Linked DNA regions of Homo sapiens: region 1 is linked to region 2. Evidence: promoter capture Hi-C in human tissues and cell types (Jung and others, 2019). All regions are on one chromosome and are shown on one strand. The core of a region is centred on a gene start or on the middle of the fragment in contact, and the rest is flanking DNA. Distances in the headings are between cores, read along the strand shown.

Region 1 (2,902 bases), core at 39-2,538, 1.9 Mb after region 2:
TGTGGGGGCACATGCCTGTAATCCCAGCTACTCAGGAAGGCTGAGGCAGAAGAATCGCTTGAACCCGGGAGGCGGAGGTTGCAGTGAGCCGAGATCACGCCACTGCACTCCAGCCTGGGCAACAAGAGCAGAACTCCATCTCAAACATAAATAAATAAATAAGCTGGGTATAGTGGCATCTGCCTGCGGTCCCAGCTACTGTACTTGGGAGGCTGAGGTGGGAGGATTGGTTCGGTCCAGGAGATTGAGGTGAGGCTACAGTGAGCCATGAATGTGCCGCTGCACTCCAGCCTGTATGACAGAGCAAGACTCTGCCTCAAAAAAACAAAAGAAAACAGCCGGGCATGGTGGCTCATGCCTGTAGTCCCAGCTACTCAGGAGGCTGAGGCAGGAGAATCGCTTAAACCCTGGAGGTGGAGGTTGCAGTGAGTCGAGATTGTGCCACTACACTCCAGCCTGGGCGACAGAGCGAGACTGTCTCAAAAACAAAATAATATTAACGGGAAATAGTATTGGCAAGGATGTGGAGAAAGGGAACCCTTGTACACCATTGGTGGGAATGTAAATTGGTAGAAAACATTATGGAGGTTCCTCAAAAAATTAAAAATAGAACTACCAGGTGATTCAGCAATCCCCCTTCATGGTATATATCCAAAGGAATGAAATCAATATCTTGGAGAGAGATCTGCACTCCTATGTTTATTGCCACAATAACCAAGATGTGGAAAAAACCTAAATGTTCACTGATAAATGGATAAACACACACACACACACACACACACACTATTCAGCCTTTAAAAAAATGGAAATCTAGGCCAGGCGTGGTGGCTCACGCCCGTAATCCCAGCACTTTGGGAGGCCGAGGCTGGTGGATCACCTGAGGTCAGGAGTTCAAAACCAGCCTGGCCAACATAGTGAAACCCCCGTCTCTACTAAAAATACAAAAAACTAGCCGGGCATGTTGGTGGGTGCCTCTAATCCCAGCTACTCGGCAGACTGAGGGAGGAGAATCGCTTGAACCCAGGAGTTGGAGGTTGCAGTGAGCCGAGATAGGGACATTGCACTCCAGCCTGGGTGACAATAGTGAAACTCCGTCTCAAAAAAAACAGGCCAGGCACAGTGGCTCACGCCTGTAATCCAAGCACATTGGGAGGCCAAGGCGGGCAGAACATGAGGTCAGGAGTTCGAGAGCAGCCTGGCCAGCATGGTGAAACCGCATCTCTACTAAAAAAATACAAAAAAATTAGCTGGGCATGGTGGTGCACACCTGTAATCCCAGCTACTCGGGAGGCTGAGGCAGAAGAGTTGCTTGAACCCAGGAGGTCGAAGTTGCAGTGGACCAAGATCGCACCACTACGCTCCAGCCTGGGCGACAGAGTGAAACTGCGTCTCAAATAAAAAGGAAAAAAACGGAAATCTTGTCATTTGTGATGACTTGGACGAACCTAAGGGACATTATGCAAAGTAAAATAAGACAGACACAGAAAGACAAATAACATATGATCTCGTATGTTTTTTTTTTTTGAGACAGAGTGTCGCTCTGTCACCCAGGCTGGAGTGCAGTGGCACGATCTCAGCTCACTGCAAGCTCTGCTTTCTGGGTTCACGCCATTCTCCTGCCCTCCTGAGTAGCTGGGACTACAGGCGCCCACCCCCATGCCCGGCTAATTTTGTTTTTTTATTTTTAGTAGAGACTGGGTTTCACTATGTTGGCCAGGCTGGTTTTGAACCCCTGAGCTTGTGATCTGCCTGCCTCGGCCTCCCAAAGTGCTTGGATTAGGAGCGTGAGCCACCGCGCCCGGCCGTATGACCTCATTTATATGTGGAATCCAAAATAGTCAAACACACAGAAGCAGAAAGCAGAATAGTGGTTGCAAGAGGCTGAGAGGTGGGAGGAAATGAAAAGGTGTTGGTCAAAGTGTGCAAAGTTTCTCATGAAGAGAAACTTTTTTTTTTTAATTTCATGGGGAAATTAAAAAAGCAAAAAGCAAAAAAACAAAAACAAAAAGGAAAGTGTACAAAGTTTCAGTCCTGCAAGATAAACAAGTTCTGGAGGCCTACCGTACAACATAGGGCACATGATTAACAAATACGGCGTTGTACATTTAAAACTTTGCTGAAAGGGTAGGTCTTATATAAGATCTTATGTTATCACAAAAGGACAAACAAAACCAAAGCGGAGTGAAGAAATGAACTGGAAGGGAATTTTTGGAGGCAATTGATAAGTTTATGGCATTAGTTGTGATAATAGTTTCAAGGATGTATACTTATTTCCAAACACGTGAAGTTGTATACATTAAATATCTACAGTTTTTTATATGTCAATCATACCTCAATAAAGTAGTTTTTCTTTCTTTCTGTCTTTCTCTTTTGAGGTGGAGTTTTGCTCTTGTTGCCCAGGCTGGAGAGCAATGCATGATCTCAGCTCACTACAACCTCCACCTCATGGGTTCAAGCAATTCTCCTGCCAAGTAGCTGGGATTACAGGCATGTGCCACCACGTCTGGCTGATTTTGTATTTTTAGTAGAGATGGGGTTTCACTGTGTTGGTCAGGCTGGTCTCGAACTCCCAACGTCAGGTGATCCAGCCACCTAGGCCTCCCAAAATGCTGGTATTACAGGCATGAGCCACCAGACCTAGCCTAATAAAGCATTTTTTTTTTTTTTTTGAGACGGAGTCTCGCTCTGTCGCTCAGGCTGGAGTGCAGTGGCATGATCTCAGCTCACTGCAAGCTCTGCCTCCCGGGTTCACACCATTCTCCTACCTCAGCCTCTGGAGTAGCTGGGACTACAGGCGCCCACCACCACACCTGGCTAATTTTTTGTATTTTTAGTAGAGACGGGGTTTCACCATGTTAGCTAGGATGGTCTCGATCTCCTGACCTCGTGATCCACCCGCCTC
Region 2 (3,222 bases), core at 723-3,222:
TATGGGGTACAAGTGTAACTTTATTGCATGGATAGATTCCAAAATGATGAAGTTAGGGCTTTCAGGTATCCACTAACCCAGTGACACACATTGTATCCATTAGATAATTCTTTTTTTTTGATGGAGTCTTGCTCTGTGACCCAGGCTGGAGTGCAGTGGCGTGATCTCAGCTCACTGCAACCTCCGCCTCCCGGGTTCAAGCGATTCTCCTGCCTCAGCCTCCTGAGTAGCTGGGACTATGGGCGTGTGCCACCACGCCCGGCTAATGTATCCATCATCATAACACACAACCATTTGAATGAATCTCACAGGCATTGTGCTGAGTGAAAAAGGTCACCCTCAGAAGGTGAGGCGATGGACGATTCCATTTATACAAGAGTCTCAAAGTGACAAAGTGATAGAGACGTAGAACAGATTAGCAGGTGCTAGGGTGGGAGAGCGATTATAAAGGGGCAGCATGAGGGAGTTCCTACGTGGTGGTGGGACAGTTCTGTGTCTTGATTGTGGCGGTGGTTCTATAAAGCCATACATACAGGCAATAAAATGTTACAGAACTATACCCATAGGCAAAGAAAAGGGAGGAGGAAAAGAAGGTGGAAGAGGAGGAAGAGCAGGAGAAAAGAAGGAAAAGGAGAAAAGGAAATAGAAATAGAAGGAAGAGGAAGAGAAAAAGAGAAACGAATTATGCACAAACTGGTGAGATCTGAGTGACCTCTGGAACCTGGTTAAACGTGTGATGCCAGTGCAAAGTCTCTGGTTTTGAAAATGTGCCATACGCCGGGCGTGGTGGCTCACGCCTGTAATCCCAGCAGTTTGGGAGGCCGAGGCAGGCGGATCGCCTGAGGTCAGAAGTTCGAGACCAGCCTGGGCAACATGGCAAAACCTCGTTTCTACTAAAAAGAACAAAAAAAATTAGCCAAGAGTGGTGGCGGACACCTGTCATCCCGGCAACTCGGGAGGCTGAGGCAGGAGAATCGCTTGAACCCGGGAGGCAGAGGTTGCAGTGAGCCAAGATTGTGCCACTGCACTCCAGCCTGGCTGACAGAGATTCTGTCTCAAAAAAAAAAAAAAAAAAAAAAAGTACTGTAATTATAAGAGATTACCATTGGCCGGGCACAGTGGCTTATGCCTGTAATCCCAGCACTTTGGGAGGCTGAGGTGGGCGGGTCACTAGAGACCAGGAGTTCAAGACCAGCCTGGCCCACATGGTGAAATCCCATCTCTACAAAAAATTAGCTGGGTGTGGTGGTGCATGCTTGTAATCCCAGCTACTTGGGAGTCTGAGGCAGGAGAATCCTTAAACCCATGAGGCAGAGGTTGCAGTGAGCCGAGATCGCGCCACTGCACTCCAGCCTGGGTGACAGAGCAAGACTCTGTCCCCCCCGCCCCCCAAAAAAAGGTTAACATTGTGGGGAGCTGGCTAGTGGGTACACGGAAGCTATAAAGCTATAGGTATTAATGTTTGTTTGTTTGCTTGTTTGAGACAGTTTCACCGTTGTTGTCCAGGCTGGAGTGCAGTGGCACAATCTTGGCTCACAGCAACCTCCGCCTCCTGGGTTCAAGCCATTCTCCTGTCTCAGCCTCCGGAGTAGCTGGGATTACAGGCATGCGCCACCATGCCTGGCTAATTTTGTATTTTTAGTAGAGACGGGGGTTTCTCCATTTTGGTCAGGCTGGTCTTGAACTCCCGACCTCAGGTGATCCGCCCGCCTCAGCCTCTCAAGGTGCTGGGATTACAGGCGTGAGCCACCGCGTCCGGCCGGTATTAGTGTTTTAAAATAAAAAATTACATTTACAGAAAACTCTTGGCAGAACTTCAGATAAGGTAGGACAGAGCTCGGGCGGGTGGGGCCACACACACCGGATTCATGGGGAAGAAGTTATCATCGACGGCTTCTTGTTTCCTGAGTCGGTTGTGAGAAGGAAACTGCAAGAGTGGGGCAGAGAACCAGAGTGTCAGAGCAAAACCTCCTCTATCTGCACATCCTGGGGACGAACCGGGCAGCCGGAGAGCTGCGGCCGGCCCAGTCCCGCTCCGCCTTTGAAGGGTAAAACCCAAGGCGGGGCCTTGGTTCTGGCAGAAGGGACGCTATGACCGCAGAATTCCTCTCCCTGCTTTGCCTCGGTGAGTCTCCAGGACTGGGACGAATGGGCTTGGGCTGGTGAGAAAAACTCATGTGGGAGTGGCAGTCCAGGTGGAAATGCGGTGTGTGGAAGTAATGACTTCCAGGTGTTGCACACCTGCGGTGGGTGGGTCTGGGCTGTGGGTTCTGTGAGTTCTGCCGCCCACATGCAAGCGAGGAGGAGGCCGCGCTGCAGAGACACGGGGACAGACTCCGCTGGGAAAGGCAGAGCTGCTGTGGGGTCTCCGAGTCTGCAGCCGCTAAATACCGCAGTACTGCCATCATCCTCCGTCGGAATAGAGGAGGGCTGGGCTTAGGGATCTACAGGGTGCAAGGCTGTGGGCAAAAAGACAATTTTCTTCTCTCTCTCTCTTATTTATTTATTTATGTATGTATGCATTTATTTATGAGACAGAGTCTCACTCTGTAGCCCAGGCTGGAGTGCAATGGCGTGATCTGGGCTCACTGCAACCTCCGTCTCCCAGGTTCAAGCGATTCTCCTGCCTCAGCCTCCCGAGTAGGTGGGACTACAGGTGCAGGCCACCACACCCGGCTGACTTTTGTATTTTAAGTAGAGACGGGGTTTCACCATGTTGGTCAGGCTGGTCTCGAGCCCCTGACCTCAGGTGATCCGCCCGCCTCAGCCTCCCAAAGTGCTGGGATTACAGGCGTGAGCCACCACACCTGGCCCCAAGAAGACAATTTTCTGACCAGCTCGATTCTTAGGCTGATTTTAACCATCCTCCAATTGAACCTGATGTATTCAGACAGAGCTCACACTGTGAAACGGATGACCTGGGTTATAATCTCGGCTTTACTACATAGAAACTCTAGGCTTGACCCAGCAGAGCTCCACCTCCCTAAGGCCCCAGTTCCTCCCTGGTGCACGGGGGGTGCGGTGGACATCGACGTGCTTCGTCTGCTTCAGTTCCTTCCTCCTTTTCTGGGTGCAGCCCTTCCTTGTGGGGTAATGCTCGTCTCCTACACACATTTGCACCTTAGATGAGCATTTTTTTTTTTTTTTGACAGAGTCTTGCTTTGTCTCCCAGGCTGGAGTGCAGTGGTGTGATCTCAGCTCACTGCAACCTCCACCTCCTGG

Evidence for each region. The method cuts DNA at HindIII sites, captures the fragments that hold promoters and counts their contacts. A contact is called where the count stands out against the background at its distance.
Region 1: a fragment that was not itself captured here is called in contact with the fragment with the promoter of VSTM1 in region 2 in 1 of the 25 tissues and cell types used here (adrenal gland).

The regions. Positions count from the first base shown.
Region 1 is chr19:52,179,655-52,182,556 of GRCh38, reverse strand. No RefSeq gene overlaps it. Among named protein-coding and RNA genes, the nearest start is that of PPP2R1A, 8.9 kb to the left of the region's middle. The HindIII fragment of the contact is 6,111 bases long and covers 1-2,902 here.
Region 2 is chr19:54,062,647-54,065,868 of GRCh38, reverse strand. It overlaps VSTM1 (V-set and transmembrane domain containing 1), which reads left to right and starts at 1,972. Exons shown (of 9, transcript NM_198481.4): 1 at 1,972-2,125. The coding sequence starts at 2,092. The HindIII fragment of the contact is 40,052 bases long and covers 1-3,222 here.